7 separate regions of the Homo sapiens genome follow, and regions 1, 2, 3, 4, 5 and 6 are each linked to region 7. The links are contacts of gene promoters, found by promoter capture Hi-C in human tissues and cell types (Jung and others, 2019). All regions are on one chromosome and are shown on one strand. The core of a region is centred on a gene start or on the middle of the fragment in contact, and the rest is flanking DNA. Distances in the headings are between cores, read along the strand shown. Region 1 overlaps NUP214 (nucleoporin 214). Region 2 has its middle 18 kb from the start of SETX. Region 3 overlaps SETX (senataxin). Region 4 overlaps SETX (senataxin). Region 5 overlaps SETX (senataxin). Region 6 overlaps SETX (senataxin). Region 7 holds the start of RAPGEF1 (Rap guanine nucleotide exchange factor 1).

Evidence for each region. The method cuts DNA at HindIII sites, captures the fragments that hold promoters and counts their contacts. A contact is called where the count stands out against the background at its distance.
Region 1: a contact is called between a fragment that was not itself captured here and the fragment with the promoter of RAPGEF1 in region 7, in 2 of the 25 tissues and cell types used here (dorsolateral prefrontal cortex and spleen).
Region 2: a fragment that was not itself captured here is called in contact with the fragment with the promoter of RAPGEF1 in region 7 in 1 of the 25 tissues and cell types used here (spleen).
Region 3: a fragment that was not itself captured here is called in contact with the fragment with the promoter of RAPGEF1 in region 7 in 14 of the 25 tissues and cell types used here (H1 embryonic stem cells, IMR-90 fibroblasts, adrenal gland and 11 more).
Region 4: a contact is called between a fragment that was not itself captured here and the fragment with the promoter of RAPGEF1 in region 7, in 2 of the 25 tissues and cell types used here (dorsolateral prefrontal cortex and lymphoblastoid cells).
Region 5: a fragment that was not itself captured here is called in contact with the fragment with the promoter of RAPGEF1 in region 7 in 1 of the 25 tissues and cell types used here (lymphoblastoid cells).
Region 6: a fragment that was not itself captured here is called in contact with the fragment with the promoter of RAPGEF1 in region 7 in 1 of the 25 tissues and cell types used here (dorsolateral prefrontal cortex).

The regions. Positions count from the first base shown.
Region 1 is chr9:131,137,632-131,140,555 of GRCh38, reverse strand. NUP214 (nucleoporin 214) reads right to left here. Exons shown (of 36, transcript NM_005085.4): 10 at 1,149-1,275; 11 at 1-7. Among named protein-coding and RNA genes, the nearest start is that of NUP214, 14 kb to the right of the region's middle. The HindIII fragment of the contact is 6,143 bases long and covers 1-2,924 here.
Region 2 is chr9:132,371,652-132,374,605 of GRCh38, reverse strand. No RefSeq gene overlaps it. Among named protein-coding and RNA genes, the nearest start is that of SETX, 18 kb to the right of the region's middle. RefSeq lists an enhancer at 1,570-1,864. The HindIII fragment of the contact is 6,869 bases long and covers 1-2,954 here.
Region 3 is chr9:132,263,778-132,266,813 of GRCh38, reverse strand. SETX (senataxin) reads left to right here. Exons shown (of 26, transcript NM_015046.7): 26 at 1,829-3,036. The coding sequence ends at 2,575. Among named protein-coding and RNA genes, the nearest start is that of SETX, 90 kb to the left of the region's middle. The HindIII fragment of the contact is 6,889 bases long and covers 1-3,036 here.
Region 4 is chr9:132,326,334-132,329,269 of GRCh38, reverse strand. It overlaps SETX (senataxin), which reads left to right. Exons shown (of 26, transcript NM_015046.7): 10 at 1-2,936. Among named protein-coding and RNA genes, the nearest start is that of SETX, 27 kb to the left of the region's middle. The HindIII fragment of the contact is 3,756 bases long and covers 1-2,936 here.
Region 5 is chr9:132,283,625-132,286,574 of GRCh38, reverse strand. SETX (senataxin) reads left to right here. Exons shown (of 26, transcript NM_015046.7): 18 at 81-152. Among named protein-coding and RNA genes, the nearest start is that of SETX, 70 kb to the left of the region's middle. The HindIII fragment of the contact is 4,353 bases long and covers 1-2,950 here.
Region 6 is chr9:132,301,603-132,304,811 of GRCh38, reverse strand. The region is part of intron 11 of SETX (senataxin); the gene reads left to right. Among named protein-coding and RNA genes, the nearest start is that of SETX, 52 kb to the left of the region's middle. The HindIII fragment of the contact is 5,071 bases long and covers 1-3,209 here.
Region 7 is chr9:131,738,809-131,741,665 of GRCh38, reverse strand. It overlaps RAPGEF1 (Rap guanine nucleotide exchange factor 1), which reads left to right and starts at 1,590. Exons shown (of 27, transcript NM_001377935.1): 1 at 1,590-1,896. The coding sequence starts at 1,836. RefSeq lists silencers at 1,367-1,626, 1,777-1,826, 1,877-2,206. The HindIII fragment of the contact is 28,094 bases long and covers 1-2,857 here.

The DNA of each region.
Region 1 (2,924 bases), core at 236-2,735, 600 kb after region 7:
TCATCACCTGTTAAAAAAGAAAACAAAAATAAAAAAACCAAGTGAATTTAAGGGCCTGAGCCCAGAAGGCAAAGACTGCCCTCAACATGAAGAGGGTTTAAGGGACTCATCTGAATAGCAGCTCAAGTTAGTTTGTTCTGATTTTATATCTGAACAGCCTTTCGTGCACCAGCTATTTAAAGAGAGTTCCTGCCGCTATCAGATCGCCACCACCCTGCTGGGCCCTGCCTAGAAGCTCCATCAGTCCCGCAGTAGCTCTGACTCTCCCAAAGGTCCCTCAGTTTTTATGAGTGTCTCAGTGGCTTGTGTACCTCAGTGGAGGTAGGCTTGGCATTCCCCTGACCAAGAGAAGAATATCTAAGAAGTACTTAGGTTAGTAGGAAAATGAGACTAGACTCTTTGGAATGGACAGTAGGACACAGAAAGATGAGTCAAACCACTTTATCCTCATTCACAGCTGAATGACAAGTATGTATTTTATCAGTTAAGGCTTCAAGAGAATCAGAGCAAATGAGCTTATCAGAACAAATACTCCTGCCTAACCAGGGAAGGAGCAAGCAACTTAATGGTGCCTGACGGGGACACCTCTCTAAACTTAAGTACCAGATGGCAAAGACTGTTTCTTTTGTGGCACTTTTACATTTCAATGACTACAGTATAGCCAAGCTACTGCAGGGAAGATCTATTCAAAACACATATCTAGGCCCTATTTGGAAACCATGGGCCTGAGGTCTCTATTTTCTAATCCTTGCCTTCAAACCAAGTACTTGTGTGCAGTACCAGATTCGGGTATTGCTTCTTTGGGAGGTCACCAGGGAATTGGATTGGACAAAGAAACCAAGCCATAAAATCCTGATGTTCTATATTTCAACCAGATTCTAAAGTACACCCAGACATGTGCAAGTGTGCAAACATGCACCCACACATACATACAGTGTTTGGCCTTGGTCTCATCAACGAACATCCATTCAAATCAGTTTAGTGTTGTCACAACGCAGCCTGTTATCACTCTTCAGGGAGAAATGTGCTGCCAGAAGCTACAAGTGCCCAGCAGAGTAGACTCTGTCAGTAACATGTAACTGGTGTTTCAATATTAACCCTAACTAGAAAGAAGACTATTTCTGCACTAACTACCAGGCTACACTTACTGATGGTGATTTCCACTTGGTTTGTATAGTCTACGACAACTCCCATGGGCAAGGAGTCATCACTCTTGTCTGTCACAGGCAATTCAGCTCGACTAGAATCCTCCAGTAGCCAAGATTCCCAATTAATCTAAAAAAAAAAAAAAAAAAAAAAAGAAGAAGAAGAAGAAAAAAGAAAAAGCCATGTTGGTTAGAGCTTTGCATTGGTTCCTCCTAACATTGTTCAAATAGGAGAACAGAGATGACTCACTTGGTTTAGACTCAGGTGTTGACTAGGAGGCTCTGAAATCTGAGAAGATGGCCTAAAAGCCAGAAGTACCCCAGCAAATGGGAAGTTAATTTTCCAAATCAACCCCCTCTCTATCTGTTCCTGGTGTATCAAGCCTCTGCCTTGTAAATAAATAACCACTATCATGAACATTTTCTGAGGTACCTTCCATGACAACTAGGGAGATTGCTGACCATGAGGGACAAATCCAACAGCAGCACTAAGCCAGTCAATACCTGCTCCTAGACATTTTGGATTGGGGCCAGGAACTCCAGCTGATCTCTACTGCAGTCTTTCACAGAGAAGCATGTAAGGCTGGTCTGTGCTCAGATGCCCTGCGCTCACTCGTCTATAGAGACAGAGATAACCTTAGTTCTTCTTCCCAGTTCTTGGTACCAGTTCCTCAGGCTGGTCAGCTTTCCTGTCCCCAGATTCCTTGAGAAACTACTAAGTCTTTCTAGTAAACTCCCTTTTTGCTTAAGTGTGCTTGGATAGGCTCTGTTCCTTCCAACAAATGACTCTTGGTTTTTAAAATCACTAACATTTTGCCTAACTTTCAGTGTTGACCAGACTGGGAAGCATGAATCACAGGGGAATAGTGCTTAAAGACCAACAAAGAAAAACAGGCTGGATGTAGTGGTTCATGCCTGTAATCCCAGCACTTTGGGAGGCTGAGGCAGGTGGATCACCTGGGGTCAGGAGTTTGAAACCAGCCTGGTCAACATGGTGAAATCCCGTCTCTACCAGAAATACAAAATTAGCTGGGCGTGTTGGTGTGCAACTGTGGTCCCAGCTACTTGGGAGGCTGAGGCAGGATAATCACTTGAACCCGGAAAGCAGAGGTTGCAGTGAGCCGAGATCATACCACTGCACTCTGGCCTAGGTTATGGGGAGGGGAGGGGAGGGGAGGAGAGCGGAGGGGAGGAGAGGGGAGTGGAGGGAAAGGAAGGAAAAGGAAGGAGAAGGAAAGAGAAGGAAGGAAGGAAGAAGAAAAAAGAGAGAGAGAGAGAAAGCAAGCAAGAAAGCAAGCAGGCAGGCAGTTCAGGAGAGGGAATGAAATCACACTATGTGACTTAGCTATGGAGCAGGTAACAGACACGTTCATATTAAACAAAAACAATCTCAACTTTTAAAAACAGTCTACAGACAAGATAAAGATGACTTATCATTGTAGGACAGAATGCAATTTTACAAAAGAGAAGACGCAGATAACAACTGGAAGGCTACCAAGGGAAAGGGTGGGAGTGCTAAGACATTCCTCTCACAAAGTGGAAGATCAAGAGTTATCACCAGACCGGGAGCTGTGGCTCATGCCTGTAATCCCAGCACTTTGGGAGGCTGAGGCGGGCGGATCACCTGAGGTCAGGAGTTTGAGACCAGCCTGGCCAACAAGGCAAAAACCTGTCTCTACTAAAAAATACAAAAATTAGCCAGGCGTGTTGGCGCATGCCTACAGTCCCAGCTACTAGGAGGCTGAGGCATGAGAATCGCTTGAACCAGGGAGGCGGAGG
Region 2 (2,954 bases), core at 175-2,674, 630 kb before region 7:
ATTTCAAATGGAGAAGAACTTAATATAAATTTTATGTTCCTTTTGGAGGGCAATTTGGTAAGATACATCAAAGCCTGAAGAGGCCGGGCATAGTGGCTCACACCTGTAATCCTAGCACTTTGTGAGGCCAAGGCAGGCGGATGACTTGAGGTCAGGAGTTTGAGACCAGCCTGGCCAACATGATGAAACTCCATCCCTACCAAAAAAAAAAAACAAACAAAAAAAAATTAGCTGGGCATGGTGGCGTGTGTCTGTAATTCCAGCTACTTGAGAGGCTGAGGTAAGAGAATCGCTTGAACCTGGGAGGCAGAGGTTGCAGTGAGCTGAGATCACACCACTGCACTCCAGCCTGGGTGACAGAGACCCTGTGTCAAAAAAAAAAAAAAAAAATTAACAGAGGCTGGGCAATGGTGGCTTATGCCTGTAATCCCAGCACTTTGGGAGGCTGAGGTGGGTGGATCACTCAAGGCCAGGAGTTCGAGACCAGCCTGGCCAACATAGTGAAAACCCATCTCTACCAAAAATTAGCCGGGTGTGGTGGTCTGCGCCTGTAGTCTCAGCTGCCCAGGAGGCTGAGGTGGGAAAATAACTTGAACCTGGGAGGCGGAGGTTCCAGTGAGCCGAGATCACGCCACTGCACTCCAGCCTGGCGACAGAGTGAGACTGTCTCAAAAAAAAAGTGAGTCAATGTTCTGGTTTCAGATCCTATAAATCTCACCTTTTACTAAAGAAAGTGACTCAGAAAGCGAACAAAGGTAAAAAGAGAAAGACAATACCCACCTCACAAGAACTAAGGCTGTGGAACATGTACAATTGGTTTTGTTTTTGTTTGTTTTTTGGAGACAGAGTCTCTGTCACCCAGGCGGGAGTGCAGTGGTGTGATCTCGGCTCACTACAACCTCCGCCTCCCGGGTTCAAGCAATTCTCCTGCCTCAGCCTCCTGAGAGTAGCTGGGATTACAGGCGTGAGCCACAGCACCTGGCCCATAAAATTGTTTTTAAACAGCCTTGACTATGCATTATTCGAGTTCTTGGCTCAGTTCTTGGTCATTTTGTCCTTGTCCCTAGTCATGTGTTTCAGCTGTTTGTCTTCACTGATGGACTTCATTACCCAACAAAGTGGCCCAGCATGGCAGATACCAAGTAGGTCAGAAATTAGCATCTTAGCCAGACCAAGACATCCACTGACTTCATAGCACCACCTTCACTTTGACAAGTGCAGCTCAACAAACATTGGTGAACACGTGCAGTGAGCCAGGTACTGTTAGGAGCTAAAAAGACAAGCATTGACAGGCCAGGCACAGTGGCTTACGCCTGTAATCCCAGCACTTTGGGAGGCCGAGGCGGGAGGATCGGGAGGTCAAGAGTTCGAGACGAGCCTGACCAACATGGTGAAACCCCATCTCTACTAAAAATACAAAAATTAGCTGGGCCTGGTGGTGCGTGCCTGTAATCCCAGCTACTCGGGAGGCTGAGGCAGGAGAATCACTTGAACCCAGGAGGCAGAGGTTGCAGTGAGCCGAGATACCGCCACTGCACTCCAGCCTGGGCGGCAGAGACTCCGTCTCAAAAAAAAAAAAACAAAAAACAAGCATTGACAGTACAGCCTTGGGGCCTGCTTTCTTGGAGGCTACACAGTCCAGCACTTCCTGAACACCATTTCCTGTTTATTTCCTGAAATACATGAGCAGGCATTCTCAGCCTCCCTCGGTGCTATCAGGTCACTCCCAGCTTACCCAGGCTGTCACATGGTCCCTTGCCACAATCACCTTCCTGAACACCCTCCATCCTGGCATTCTCTCCCCCTGAGGCACTTCCCTGTTTAAGACACCAGATCTGGGTGAGCCCTTCCCTTTGCCTGTTACCTGCACCTGAAGAGCTGAATATTCCCAGAAGAAAATTACAACTGAGCTGGCAGATTTCACTTTAATGATGATAAAGCTCAAACGGACACAATGTTACCAAAGGATGCTACTCTGAATCTCTAGTAGGCTTGCTTTGCTTTTCCCCACATCAGCTCACGTGCACAGTCAGCCCTCTCACACTCCCTTTCTGCCTCATGTATAATCCACTTAGGAAAGTGAAGCCATAAGACATAAGCTCCCTCCTCCCTCCACCAAGCAGACAAACCTACCTCCAGCCACACTTACGCCGATCCCTACACCTAAGCTCCTGCAGCCCATCCCCCTGCTTTTTTTTTCCTTTTTTTTTTAAAGAGACAGGGTCTCACTGTGTTGCCCAGGCTGGAGTGCACCATCACGACTGATTGCAACTTTGACCTCCCGGCCTCAAGCAATCCTCCCACCTCAGCCTCCCATGTAGCTGGGACAACAGCAGGCATGTGCTACCACACCAGCTAATTTTTATTTTTTATTTTTGTGTAGCGACATGGTCTCCGTATGTTGCCCAGGCTGGTCTTGAACTCCCGGGCTCAAGTGATCCTCCCACCTCTGCCTCCCAGTGTTGAGATTACAAGGTGTGAGTGCCTGGCTACCACCTGCATTTTCTGAGATTTTGATATTTTGTTGATCCTTCTCCTAAATTGTCAGCCTTCTGTTCTGGACCATTAACACCATACAAACAGGCTCTAGTGTAACTCATCTTAATTTAAAATATGTGTGTATATATGTATATATATATGGACTCAATTAGTTTCTGCTACACTCCTCCCGCTGCACTCAACATTGAAAAGTTAGTGTTCCTCAGAGCTCAATTTTGGGCTTCTTCACATTCTCTCCATGCCTTGAAATAATGTGTATATGCTGATCCCTCCTCCCAAGTGTATAGTTACAGGTCAGATTCTCCCCCGAACTCCAGGATAAAAAAATTCATCTGCCTACTCACTATCTCCACTCAGGTATTACACCTGAAATCTATTATATTACAAATAACTTTCTTTCTTTCTTTCTTTCTTTTTAGATGGAGTTTTGCTCTTGTTGCCTGGGCTAGAGCGCA
Region 3 (3,036 bases), core at 50-2,549, 530 kb before region 7:
CTTTATCTCCAGTGTATAAGGTTTTTTTGGGGGTTTTTTTTTGAGACAGAGCCTCACCTTGTTGCCCAGGCTGGAGTGCAGTGGCACAATCTCAGCTCACTGCAACGTCCGCCTCCTGGGTTCAGGCGATTCTCATGCCTTAGCATCTCAAGTACCTGGGATTATAGCTGTGCACCACTACACTTGGCTAATTTTTGTATTTTTAGTAGAGACGGGGTTTCACCATGTTGCCCAGGCTCGTCTTGAACCTCTGACCTCAGGTGATCCGCCCGCCTCAGCCTCCCAAAGTGTTAGGATTACAGGCATGAGCCACTGCACCTGGCCCAGTGCATAAGTTTTAATGCTGGTGTTATCTTGTCTTATCAGAAAATGTCTGTAGAAGGTTTTCAGGCATTATTTTTAAATGGTTTATTGACTAAAAGTCTAAGGGTTATAATTGCCTCATCATGTAATTTCCAAGGATAGGTACATGGCCAAGAGGCTCCCCAAGGTCAGAAATGCTAAAATGTGAAAGCAACGTGCACTTTAGAATCCATTAAATAAAATATTACTCCTATTTTACAGATGAGGAAACAGGCTCAGAGAGGTCAAGTGACTTGACCAAGGTCACACAGCAAGTAAATACTGTGCAGCCTCACTGCTTCCCTAACATACCTTTATGAACAGTACAGGAGCCCCCATGAGAGGGTAGCTATCCTTTTTCTTCTTTTCTTTCTTCTTTCTAAAGAGACCCGAATTCTAGTGGTTGTAAAGCAGCAGCCTCCTCTGAAGAAACTCGGGAAGAGAGGAGAGGTGCATGTGTTTGGCAACTTTCCCGATGGGATTTAATATCTTAAGCTCCTGTAGGAAACAGGCAGAAAGTGAGATGATATCTTGAGATCTCGGTGGATGAAGATGTTTTAGCCATTCGGGGTTTGGGAGGCCTTTAGAAATCCAGTGAAAGCCTTGGGCCTTTTTCTAGAATAGTCACATGCACTCAGAAGTTTGCTTTCTGAAACCAGACCTTCCTGTTTCAGAACGTTAGCCCTGCCAAGAGGTGTAGGCAGTACTCTAGATCACCAATGTCCAAAGGACCTTTCTGTGATAACGGAAATGTTTTGTGTCTGCACTGCTCAGTACAATAGCCATTAGTCGTGTGTGACCGCTGTGTACTTGAAATGTGGCTGATGCAATTTAGGAACAGAATTTTTTATTTTAATTTATTGAAATATAAATAGCAACATGATGCTCCTAGTGACTAGTGCAGACCTGCGTTGCAGTTGAATGCACTGATAAAAATGGCTGAAGTTCGGCCAGGCACGGTGGCTCCTGCCTGTAATCCCAGCACTTTGGGAGCTGAGGCGGGCGGATCATGAGGTCAGGAGATCGAGACCATCTTGGCTAACATGATGAAACCCCGTCTCTACTAAAAATACAAAAAATTAGCCGGGCGTGGTGGCGGGTGCCTGTAGTCCCAGCTACTCGGGAGGTTGAGGCAGGAGAATGGCGTGAACCCGGGAGGTGGAGGTTGCAGTGAGCCAAGATCGCGCCACTGCACTCCAGCCTGGCAACAGAGTGAGTCTCTGTCTCAAAAAAAAAAAAAAAAAAAACAAAAGTTGAAGTTCTCCATTATAGGTTGTGACCAGGTCTTATTTTTAGGAATGGGACTTTATCATTTTTTATTTGAATTTATTTTTTCCTTTCATCCTTGTCTGACGAGTAATGAATCTTGAGAATATGTTCATACAATAATATGTATTATTTGTTCAGAAATGAAAGCTGGAACTCTATGCTTCCCAAGCAGTGTCTCTTTGGGGTGTAATTATTTCTCCCTTCTCATTGTTTCAAGGAAAACCAGCATTGGAATCAGCTGATTCAGGATGCTCAGAAGCGTGGTGCCATTATTAAGACCTGTGACAAAAACTATAGACATGATGCAGTGAAGATTCTGAAACTCAAGCCTGTGCTGCAGAGAAGTCTCACTCACCCTCCTACCATAGCCCCAGAGGGGTCCAGACCCCAGGGTGGTTTGCCCAGCAGCAAGCTAGACAGTGGATTTGCCAAGACATCTGTTGCTGCTTCTCTATACCACACACCCTCTGACTCCAAGGAAATTACTCTTACTGTTACTTCAAAGGACCCTGAAAGACCTCCTGTTCATGACCAACTTCAGGACCCACGACTGCTGAAGAGGATGGGCATTGAGGTCAAAGGAGGAATATTCCTTTGGGATCCACAACCCTCGAGCCCCCAGCATCCTGGAGCAACACCTCCTACGGGCGAGCCGGGCTTCCCTGTCGTTCACCAGGACCTGAGCCATATACAGCAGCCCGCTGCTGTAGTGGCTGCTCTGAGCAGCCACAAACCTCCCGTGCGGGGCGAACCTCCAGCTGCCAGTCCCGAGGCTTCCACGTGTCAGAGCAAATGTGATGACCCGGAAGAGGAGCTCTGTCACAGGAGAGAGGCCAGGGCTTTCAGTGAAGGGGAGCAGGAGAAGTGTGGTTCCGAGACCCATCACACCAGGAGGAACTCTAGGTGGGACAAGAGGACACTGGAGCAGGAGGACAGCAGTTCCAAGAAAAGAAAGCTTTTATAGGAAAGCCCAGTGACATGGGCCAGCAGCCACAGCATATTGTAAACTGAAGATGACCAGCTCGTGGGACCATCTAGATAAGCTTGTTTTTTGTAAGGAGTTTGTGTGCTGTTGGAAAACATGGAAAATGCATCCTTAACACCTGAGCCTCTGGTCATCTTCAGTATTTTCTGTCATTTGCAAAAGCTTTCAGAGGGCATTGTGTATCCGTAATAATGTCCTTGAAGTCAGAGACTGGAAATGTTGATCTCTTAGTCTTCTATAGACAAGGAGGTCAGACTGGAGTGAATGTTGTAAAAGTTGAAATGTATATTTGTATAGCAAATAACAAAATCCTTTTAAAATTTAATCTAGTAGACCGCTTTTCTTTCCCCCTGTTTAAAATGTTAATCAGTTTTCAACAGAACAAACTTTATATTACCAAAAAAAAAAAGATGGGAGGAGGGCGGGTCCTTTCAACCATT
Region 4 (2,936 bases), core at 1-2,500, 590 kb before region 7:
AAACGAAAAACTAAGGTACAGAAAGATGAAATCTGTGCAAAGTTATCACATGTAATAAAGAAGCAACACAGGAAGAGTACTTTGGTCGATAATACTATCAATTTAGATGAAAATTTGACTGTATCTAACATTGAGAGTTTCTATTCAAGGAAAGATACAGGAGTTCAGAAAGGAGATGGTTTCATACACAATCTTTCTTTAGACCCTAGTGGTGTTCTGGATGATAAGAATGGAGAACAAAAATCTCAAAACAATGTATTGCCAAAAGAGAAACAATTAAAGAATGAAGAATTAGTTATTTTCTCTTTCCATGAAAACAATTGTAAAATACAGGAATTTCATGTTGATGGTAAAGAATTGATCCCTTTTACAGAAATGACCAATGCTTCAGAGAAGAAATCATCTCCCTTTAAAGATCTTATGACTGTACCTGAATCAAGAGATGAGGAGATGAGTAATAGTACCAGTGTGATTTATTCTAACTTGACAAGAGAACAGGCCCCTGACATCAGTCCTAAATCTGACACCTTAACGGATTCTCAGATAGACAGAGACCTTCACAAATTATCTTTACTAGCTCAAGCCAGTGTTATTACGTTCCCATCCGATTCACCTCAGAACTCATCGCAGCTGCAAAGGAAAGTAAAAGAAGATAAAAGATGTTTCACAGCTAACCAAAATAATGTTGGAGATACCTCCCGTGGACAGGTTATTATTATTTCAGATTCTGATGATGATGATGATGAAAGAATCCTGAGTCTTGAGAAACTCACTAAACAGGACAAAATATGCCTTGAGAGGGAACATCCAGAGCAGCACGTTTCAACAGTTAATAGTAAGGAGGAAAAGAATCCAGTAAAGGAAGAAAAGACAGAGACTCTTTTTCAGTTTGAGGAATCTGATTCTCAGTGTTTTGAGTTTGAAAGTTCATCTGAAGTGTTTTCAGTTTGGCAAGATCATCCAGACGATAATAATTCAGTTCAAGATGGTGAGAAAAAATGTTTGGCTCCTATAGCCAATACTACAAATGGTCAGGGTTGTACAGATTATGTATCTGAAGTTGTTAAAAAAGGAGCAGAGGGCATTGAAGAACACACAAGACCACGGAGTATTTCTGTTGAAGAATTTTGTGAAATTGAAGTAAAAAAGCCTAAGAGAAAACGATCTGAAAAACCAATGGCTGAAGATCCTGTGAGGCCTTCATCTTCTGTCAGAAATGAGGGCCAGTCTGATACTAATAAGAGAGATCTTGTGGGAAATGATTTTAAAAGTATTGATAGAAGGACTTCAACTCCCAATTCACGTATTCAGAGAGCCACTACGGTTTCACAAAAGAAGTCTTCAAAGCTTTGTACTTGTACAGAACCCATCAGGAAAGTTCCAGTTTCTAAGACCCCTAAGAAAACTCATTCAGATGCCAAAAAAGGACAGAATAGAAGTTCAAATTACCTAAGTTGTAGAACAACTCCTGCTATAGTGCCGCCAAAGAAATTTCGTCAGTGTCCTGAGCCAACTTCAACAGCTGAGAAACTTGGCCTGAAAAAGGGTCCTCGTAAGGCATATGAGTTGTCCCAGCGGTCTTTGGATTATGTAGCTCAATTACGTGATCATGGCAAAACTGTTGGAGTAGTTGATACCCGAAAAAAGACTAAATTAATTTCTCCTCAGAACCTGTCTGTCAGAAATAATAAGAAACTTCTGACTAGTCAAGAACTTCAGATGCAAAGGCAGATCAGACCCAAATCACAAAAAAATAGACGAAGACTTTCTGATTGTGAAAGTACAGATGTTAAAAGAGCAGGGTCACATACAGCACAGAATTCTGACATATTTGTACCAGAATCTGATAGGTCAGATTATAATTGTACAGGAGGAACTGAGGTACTTGCCAACAGTAACAGAAAACAGTTAATAAAATGCATGCCTTCTGAACCAGAAACCATAAAAGCAAAACATGGGTCTCCAGCAACTGATGATGCTTGCCCTTTGAACCAGTGTGATTCTGTAGTGTTAAATGGAACAGTACCAACAAATGAAGTAATTGTCTCCACTTCAGAAGACCCTCTGGGTGGAGGTGATCCAACAGCACGTCATATAGAGATGGCAGCTTTGAAAGAAGGAGAGCCTGACTCCAGCAGTGATGCAGAGGAAGATAACTTATTTTTAACCCAAAATGATCCTGAAGATATGGATTTATGTTCACAAATGGAGAATGACAATTATAAACTCATTGAACTAATTCATGGAAAAGATACAGTTGAGGTTGAAGAAGATTCTGTAAGTCGGCCTCAGTTGGAATCTTTGAGTGGCACAAAGTGTAAGTACAAAGATTGTCTTGAAACCACAAAAAACCAGGGTGAATACTGCCCAAAACACTCTGAAGTGAAAGCAGCAGATGAAGATGTATTTCGTAAACCTGGCTTGCCTCCTCCTGCATCTAAACCTTTGAGACCTACCACTAAGATTTTTAGCTCAAAGAGTACTTCACGAATTGCTGGTCTTTCTAAATCTTTGGAAACTTCTTCAGCACTTTCACCGTCTCTAAAAAATAAGTCAAAGGGGATACAGTCGATTTTGAAAGTACCACAGCCAGTTCCCCTCATAGCTCAGAAGCCAGTTGGTGAAATGAAGAATTCGTGCAATGTTCTTCATCCTCAGTCTCCGAATAATTCCAACAGGCAAGGTTGCAAAGTTCCATTTGGTGAAAGCAAATATTTTCCATCTTCCTCTCCAGTAAACATTCTTTTGTCATCACAGTCTGTCTCTGACACCTTCGTTAAAGAGGTCTTAAAATGGAAATATGAAATGTTTTTGAACTTTGGTCAGTGTGGGCCCCCTGCAAGTCTTTGTCAGTCCATCTCAAGACCTGTGCCTGTCAGATTTCACAATTATGGAGATTATTTTAATGTTTTTTTCCCTTTGATGGTATTGAATAC
Region 5 (2,950 bases), core at 374-2,873, 540 kb before region 7:
TAAAATTAGAGGTAGTCCATTGGAAGGCATTTAAAAATGCTTAGTTTAGTTTTAATTGTGACATTTGAATTTTTTTCCAGAGGCAAGAATTAGATGAAAACATTTCCAAAGTTTCTAAGGAAAGGCAGGAACTTGCTTCTAAAATTAAAGAGGTAAGTAGTTCACCTGTAGCATTTTCTTGATTTTTTTTTTTTTCTTTTTAAAATTTAAGTATGACTGTTCAGACAAGCTATGGGCTTTTATTTATTTATTTTGGAGACAGAGTCTCACTCTGTCTCTCAGGCTGGGGTGCAGTGGCATGATCTCAGCTCACTGCAACCTCAGTCTCCCATGTGGCTGGGATTACAGGCGTGCACCACCATGCCTGGCTAATTTTTTTTTTTTTTTTTTTTTGAGGTGAAGTCTTGCTCTGTCACCAGACTGGAGTATAGTGGCGTGATCTTGGCTCACTGCAACCTCTGCCTCCCGGGTTCAAGCGATTCTCCTGCCTCAGCCTCCCGAGTAGCTAGGATTACAGGCGTGTGCCACCACGCCCAGCTAATTTTTGCATTGTTAGTAGAGACGGGGTTTCACCGTGTTGGCCAGGATGGTCTGGATCTCTTGACGTCATGATCCTCCTGCCTCAGCCTCCCTCAAAGTGCTGGGATTACAGGCGTGAGGCACCACACCTGGCCTCTTTTGTGTTTTTTTTTTTTTGAGACAGAGTCTCACTCTGTTGCCAGGCTGGAGTGCAGTGGCACAATCTCAGCTCACTGCAACCTCTGCCTCCCAGGTTCAAGTGATTCTCCTGCCTCAGCCTCCCGAGTAGCTGGGACTACAGGTGTGCGCCACCACGCCCGACTAAATTTTGTATTTTTAGTAGAGATGGGGTTTCACCATGTTGGCCAGGATGGTCTCCATCTCATGACGTTGTGATCCGCCCACCTCGGCCTCCCTAAGTGCTGGGATTACAGGCGTGAGCCACCATGCCTGGCCCTTTTTTTGTATTTTTAATAGAGATGGGGTTTCACCATGTTGGCCATGCTGGTCTGGAACGTCCAACCTCAAGTCATCCCCCGTCTCGGCCTCCCAAAGTGTTGGCATTACAGGCGTGAGCCACCATGCCTGGCCAGCTATGGGCTTTTCTCAGTTACATTTTAAATTGTTATGAAAAATTACAAACATCTGTGGAAGTGGAGAAAATGGTGTAACAACATTTGCATTTTTTTCTTTAACCTAAGAATGAATTCTTACCACCATCTAAGATTTCTAAGAGGTGGTTATAAGTTATCTTTTTTGTTTTAAGTCTGGTAAATATTTAAATTCTTTCTTATAAGGTGCTCTATTTCTGCTTCCCATAAACTGCAAAAAACAATTATGATAATTATCATCAGATAAACAGTTAATGAAAATAGCTTTGGCCAGGCGCGGTGGCTCACGCCTGTACTCCCAGCACTTTGGGAGGCCGAGGCGGGCGGATCACGAGGTCAGGAGATTGAGACCATCCTGGCTAACACAGTGAAACCCCGTCTCTAATAAAATACAAAAAATTAGCTGGGCGTGGTGGTGGGCACCTGTAATCCCACCTACTCGGGAGCCTGAGGCAGGAGAATGGCGTGAACCTGGGAGGCAGAGCTTGCAGTGAGTGGAGATCGCGCCACTGCACTCCAGCCTGGGTGACAGAGCGAGACTCCGTCTCAAAAAAAAAAAACAACAAAAAAAATAGCTTTGTGGGTGTTTTCACTATTAAAAAAAAAAAGTCACCTGTATGAGCTTTAGGATGAGGGTGGCAACTGTGAGCCCTCCAGAGCTCCAACCTGGATAGAAGTAGAGTGATGGTGGGCAGAATTCGGCAAAAGAAAGTACAGCACTTTGATATTTGGTTTTTGTTTTTTGCAATTCTTGGGTTAGAGCATAAACTCCCTGTACTTGTGTTGGATCATAAGACTCCTGTAACATTTTGTAGCTTTTCTCCAGTATTTTTTGGATGTGAAAATATCCTGTAAGATTTAGACTCATTGAAGCTTGGCCGAGCCAGGTGTATACCCTGATTGTCAGAATGCAGCCCTAATCAAACCACACTGGGGTCAGGGAAAGAGGGTAATAGTAACTGATGACGTTAGTAGTATTTTTGCTGAAGTTTCCTCCTGAATGGATTATGATCTTTCTCTATGTGACTAAAATATAGTTGAATTTAATGCATATTTTCATTAGCAGTTTATTTAAACTAAAAGTTATGTGAAAGCTTTTGATTAAACAGATTTTAATCAGATTTTAAACAGAACCCCAGATTAATCTTTCCTGAGTCAAGGATGAAGTCCATCTTCACAGATGTTTTTTGCTGCTCATCACATGTGTTCTGTGGGCCATGAAACTATGCTCAGCAGTTGTACTCACTAGGTGGCTGAGGACAGTGTCTGACAGTGCTTTACTGTGTGAGCCGTGGAGGACCACAGTGCCACCCTCTTCCTAAAGCTCACACGAATGCCTTGAATTCCATGGTTGAATATATCGTATGTGCTGAGATGAATCACCACTACTTCTTAGTAGCAAAAAGCAGCAAACTGAATCTCTGCTGGAAATGCTGATTGACTGAGCAGTGTAGGTGTGACTGTGAGGCGTCACTCACGTCCGGCTCCATCACAGCACACTGCGTTAGAGAGGGAGACCAGACTGTTCCTTACTGTGGAAATAGAGGATTTGTCAGGTTCACAGGCATTTTTGTTAGTACTAGCAAAAGCACTAAAAAAAGACAGGGCAATATTATATACTTAAAAACTAACAGAAAAATGTACATTCAGGCTGAATTCCACCCCTGGTTTTACTCATATAATTCACAACTCAGAATTATTACATCTCTACTTCAGATACCTACCTACATATATCTGACTACAGGAAGGATTGTAATCTACTTTGACCAAATCAAACCCTGGATAAAAATTTTTAATGTGCTTAAATCATATTCTGTGTT
Region 6 (3,209 bases), core at 136-2,635, 560 kb before region 7:
TGGCTAGGCTGGTCTTGAACTCCTGACCTCAGGTTATCCTCCTGCCTTGGCCCCACAAAGTGCCTAAATTACAGGCGCGAGCCACTGCGCCCAGCCTAATTCAGTATTCTTTTCCTTCCCGGTTGTGGTTTTGGGGAGAATTTTCTTTTTCTTTTCTTTCTTTCTTTTTTTTTTTTTTTGAAACAGGGTCTTGTTCTGTCGCCCAGGCTGACGTTCAGTGGCGCAATCCCAGCTCACTGCAGCCTCAAACTCCCAGGCTGAGAATTTTCATTAGTATGTTGGATCTCCATTTTCTTTTTTTTTTTGTAATCTTTACATATGGATTTATTAATTTTATTTCTATTTCTGAGGTAATGAGATGGTTTACACAATTACAAGTTCAGTGACACCCTTTTCTGCAAGTGTAGTGAAGTCCAGAGTTTGTTCCACTTTTGAGGGTCTTGCAGGACCCTAAATTTTCTCCCCTTTTGGTTCTACCTACAGTATGCAGTTATAAAAGGGTACTTCTCCCTTCTTCTCTTGTCCCTCAGAAGCTTTGAGTTTCAAGTACTGCCAGTTCAAACCCCATGGACCATTAATACCCTGTGCTGTATGCTGTATTCTGATTTTTGTCAGGGTGCTGCATTAGTGTTTTCACACTTGAGCTCGTCTTACCCTTCTCCTGGTAGATTTGGAGCTGGCTGAGGCTCCTGAGCTCTCTTTTTTTGAGACGGAGTCTTGCTCTGTTGCCCCAGCCTGGAGTGCAGTGGCTGCAACCTCCGCCTCCCGGGTTCAAGCAATTCTCCTGCCTCAGCCTCCCAAGTAGCTGGGTTTACAGGCGCCCCACCATGCCTGACTAATTTTTGTATTTTTAGTAGAAACAGGGTTTCACCATGTTGGGCAGGCTGGTCTCGAACTTCTGATCTCAGGTGAACCACCCGCCTCGGCCTCCCAAAGTGCTGGGATTACAGACGTGAGCTACTGCGCCCATGTGGTGTTTTTAATTTTGGTGATTCAGACGGGTGTGTAGTAGTATGTCATTGTGGTTTTAATTTACTTTTCTAGAATGGCTAACAATGTTGAGCATCTTTTCACAGACTTACTGGCAATGTACATATCCCCTTCATGTATCTTCCATTTTTAGTTGGATTGTTTGTCCTCTTATTTTTCCTTATTTTTCAGTTCTTTATATATTCTGGAGACAAGTTATTTATTATATTTATATATTGAAAATATTTACTCCTAATCTGTGGAATGCCTTTTAATTTTCCTAACAGTATCTTTTGAAGAGCAAAAGTTTTGATTTTGATGGCATCCCATCAAAATGCTTTTTGTATCCTAAGAAGCATTTACCTAACCCACGGTCACAGTTTTCTCCTATTTTTTTTTTTCTAAATTTTATGGTTTAATTTTTGTGTTTATGTTGATGACCATTTCAATTTTATTTTTATATATGACATATGTAAGGATTAAGGGTTTTTTTTTTTTTTTTTGCTTTTTTAAAGGTAGAAGTCAGACGCAGTGGTTCATACTTGTAATCTCAGCACTTTAGGAGGCCAAAACAGGAAGATCACTTCAGGCCAGGAGTTTGAGAGCAGTCTGGGCAACATAGCAAGACGCTGTCTCTACAGAAAAGTAAAAAAAAAAATTAGCTGAGCATGGTGGCACACACCTAGAGTCCCAGTGACATGGGAGGCTGAGGCAGGAGGATTTCTTGAGCCCAAGTGTTCAAGGCTGCAGTGAGCTGTGATCATACCACTGCATTCCAGTCTGGGAGATAGAACAAGACCCAATCTCTAAAAAAATAAATCAAAAACAATGTAAAAATAGGTGCTCAGTTTTAGTGTTACTTGTTAAAAAAAATGTAGCCTTTCTCATTGAATAACCTTGCCATTCAATAACTTGGCATATTTGTCGGAATATCAGTTGATCTTGATTGCAGGTCTGCTTTTAAACACCGTTTTCTTTATCTGTATAGCTGCCTTCCACCAATACCACAGTCTCTTATTGTTGTTTTATAAAAAATACTGAAATTGGATAGTCAGCCTTTCAGTTTTGTTCTTTGTAAAAAGTTTCTTTTTATTGTCATCAGTTTTAGAATCAACTTGTCAACATTTATAAAAATGCCTGCTGGTTTTTTTTTTTTTTTTTGCTTTTTTTTTTTTTTTTTTTGAGACAAAGTCTCACTCTTGTTGCCCAGGCTGGAGTGCAATGGCGCAATCTTGGCTCACAGCAATCTCCACCTCCCAGGTTCAAGCGATTCTCCTGCCTCAGCCTCCCAAGTAGCTGGGATTACAGGCGCCTGCCACGACGCCTGGCTAATTTTTGTATTTTTAGTAGAGATGGGGTTTCACCATGTTGGCCAGGCTGGTCTCAAACGCCTGACCTCAGGTGATCCGCCCGTCTCGGCCTCCCAAAGTGCTGGGATTACAGGCGTGAGCCACCACACCTGGCCTTTTTTTTTTTTTTTTTTTTTGAGATGGATTCTTGCTCTGTCACCCAGGCTGGAGTGCAGTGGTGTGATCTCGGCTCACTGCAAGCTCCGCCTCCTGGGTTCACGTCATTCTCCTGCCTCGGCCTCCCGAGTAGCTGGGACTACAGATGCCTGCCACCATGCCCGGCTAATTTTTTGTATTTTTAGTAGAGACGGGGTTTCACCGTGTTGGCCAGGATGTTCTCGATCTCCTGACCTCATGATCCACCTGCCTTGGCCTCCCAGAGTGCTGGGATTACAGGCGTGAGCCACTGTGCCTGGCGGCCATCTGCTGGTATTTTTACTAGGATTGCTTTGACTCTAAAGATTAATTTGGGGACAGCTGACATTTTAACAATATTAAGTCTTAGGCCTTGAACTTAGTACATTTCTTCATTTGTTCAGGCTGTCTTCAGTTTCTCTCAGCAGTGGTTTGTATTTTTCAGAGTATAGGGCTAGATTCGGCAGTTGGTACTGAACTTTATTCCAGTGCTTTCTCTGTTTTCCTAGTCCCATGTAGTTTACAACCGTCTTTCCCCACTTGTTTGAAATGCGTAGAAGTTGCAAAATTCTTGTATGTACAATCACATGTCACTTAATGATGGGGATACATTCTCAGAAATGTGTCAGGCGATTTCATCATCATGCCAACATCATGAGAAGTAAGAGTGTACTTAGAGGAACCTAGGCGGTGTAGCCTACCACACACCTAGTCTGCCAACCTGTACAGCATGTTACCGTATTGAATACTGTAGGT
Region 7 (2,857 bases), core at 341-2,840:
ATCCACCCACCTCAGCCTCCCAAAGTGCTGTGATTGCAGCCGTGAGCCACTGTGCCCAACCACGACTTTTTTTTTTTTTTTGAGACGGAGTCTCGCTCTGGAGCCACCAGGCTGGAGTACAGTGGCATGATCTCGGTTCACTGCAACCTCCATGTCCTGGGTTCAAGAGATTCTCCTGCCTCAGCCTCCCAAGTAGCTGGGACTACAGGCGTGTGCCACCATGCCCACCTAATTTTTGTATTTTTAGTAGAGATGGGGTTTCACCATGTTGGCCAGGATGGTCTCAATCTCTTGACCTCGTGATCCACCTGCCTCGGCCTCCCAAAGTGCTGGGATTACAGGCGTGAGCCACCGTGCCCAGCCACGACTTTTAATGAACTCATTTCCACACTAGAAAAGTTCCACAGCTGAGCCCCAGGGTGCCCTTCTGGATGTCAAATAAGCAGGGCAGGCAGGGTGTGCTGTGTCCCTGAGGGAGTTGGGCCCAGGCCAGCATGGAGGCTCTAGGCCTCAGGGGACATTTAGGCCTGAGTAGGGCCAACCCCAGCCCGGGACAGGTGGCTCTCGCTGGCAGGGTGACTGAGTCCCACATGCAGGGCTGGGGTGGAGAATGAATCCTCCGCCTTGGCATAGACCTTGGGCCAGCAGAGGGCTTTCATGCCAGAGTGGACTCATTCCCCGGCTGGAGCCTCTGGGCTGGCAGGAGGTGCTATGAGGCCACTCCCAGGCCCTGGTGTGGGGTCTCCAATTAAGAAGGGGGTGCGGGCAGGGTGCAGTGGTTCACACCTGTAATCCCAGCACTTTGGGAGGCCAAGGTGGGTGGATCATGAGGTCAGAAGATCGAGACCAGCCTGGCCAACATGGCGAAACCCCGTTTCTACTAAAAATACAAAAATTAGCTGGGCATGGTGGCATGTGCCTGTAATCCCAGCTACTCAGGAGGCTGAGGCAGGAGAATTGCTTGAACCCGGCAGGCAGAGGTTGCAGTGAGTCGAGATCGCGCCACTGCTCTCCAGCCTGGCGACAAAGTGAGACTCGGTCTCAAAAACAAAAAACAAAACAAAAAAGGGGGTGCTGCATCTCTGGTTTGGGGGAGGTCAGGACAGGCTCCCAGCCAGCAGAGCTTGTTGAGTCCTGGTGAGAGTGAGTTCTAGGCCCTGGTGTGGAGCCTCTGGCCCACAGGGGATGCTGGGTCCGGGATGATGCTAGGGTGGGGTGGGCGTCAGTTCCACGTCCTGGGGTGGAAAATCTGACCCAGGAGGGTTCTCTGTGTCTCTGGTGAGGGGGCAGGCCAGGCTCTTGGGCAACCGAGGACCCTGGGTTGGAGCTGTCAGTCCCAGGTCTGGAGCTGGTGACTCTGGTCCCACAGCAGAGGAATGCGGAGTCCCAGGCGGGGTCGGCCCCACACCCCAGGCCCCAGGCCCCGGCGTGGGGACTCCGGCTCGGCAGGGGGCGCTGCGTCTCGCGCGTCGCGCGGGAGGCTCGGGCGGCTCCGGGCCCACAGGGGGCGCTGTGGCGGCGCGGCGGGCGCCCGGCAGGTGGCGCTGTGGCCGTGGCCGCGGCCGAGGCCCGGCGGGCGGGCGGGCGGCGTCGCTGCGCTGCGGCCGGCTCGCGGGCCGGGGGAGCGGCGGCGGGCGCGCGGGAGGCGGAGCGGCGGCGGCGGGCGCGGCGGGAGCGGCTGGGCCCGGGCGGGCTGGAGCGCGGTCGCCGAGCGCAGGGCCGCGGCCGCGCGGAGCCCGCCATGCCGGCGCGGGTCTGAGGCGTGGCGAGCCAGGGCCGAGGCGAGCGGCGGGCGCGCCGCCCCTGTCGCCCCGCGGCGGCCCGGCCCGGGCCCGATGAGCGGCGGCCTCGGCCTCCGGCGCAGCCCGGAAATGTCCGGCAAGATCGAGAAAGCAGGTGAGGCGCGGGCGTGGGGCGGCTCCCTCCGGCCGGGCCCGGCCCTGGGGCTCCGCCGCTCCCCGGGCCGAGCGCGGGTCGCCCGGGATGTGCGGCCCTCCGTGCGCCGGGGCGGGGTGAAGCCACCGAGGCCTCGCCGGGGCGCCTGGCAGCTTCTCCTCCAGGCCCATTGCCTGCCGGGCGCGGGGGGAAGCGGCCGCTGCGGGGGCGCCAGGGGCCGGGCCGGGCGGGGCCCCTGCAACCCGGGGCCGGGCGCGCTAGCCGCTCCGCGGTCCCCGGGAACTTCCGAAAATGGCTCGAGCCCCAAGCAGGGGAAGAACAGCCCGGGCCGCGTGCTGCTGCGGCTGCAGCGATCGGTGCCCGGCCTGGGCTCGGCGCTAGGAGGGTGAACCCAGCTGAGCTGTAAAATGTGTCATTTCTAACGAGCTTCGAGTTTAACGAGAAGCGTCCACTTCGGTTGCTTCAAAGGAAGCAGGCTGGATGAGTGGGGGTATTTTGAGGAGGTAGTCAAGTTTCCCCTCCCCACCCCGATCAAGCTCAGCTCTGCAAGGAGGGCAGGTGGGGGACCGGTGGGTTGGAGTAGATGGTAAATCTTGATGCAGACCTCGTCTCTTTGTGTGTTCCTAGAAATCTGGGGGAGTTACCTTCCGAGTCCCTGGGTTTGCCTGTCCTGGAAATAGAGTCTCCAAAGATTCAATGACTGTCGAGCCTGTGGGGCCCCAGGCTTTATTAGCCTGCAGCACCTTGCAGGGCAAATGCGAATTCTTGGGTCTAAGGTGAAGTGGGCGGGTGCTCCTGGGCTCCTGTACTGGGAGCATGCCCTGTGGTCATAACCCCGGTAGCAGGTTAGCTTGGCGGCTGAATGAGGGAAAGCAGATTTTTAGGGAGCTGCAAAGGAGGTCTGTGGCTTTGATTGTGGAAGTTGCTTATGTTTCCTGGGTTGAATCTGGGATACTTCTGT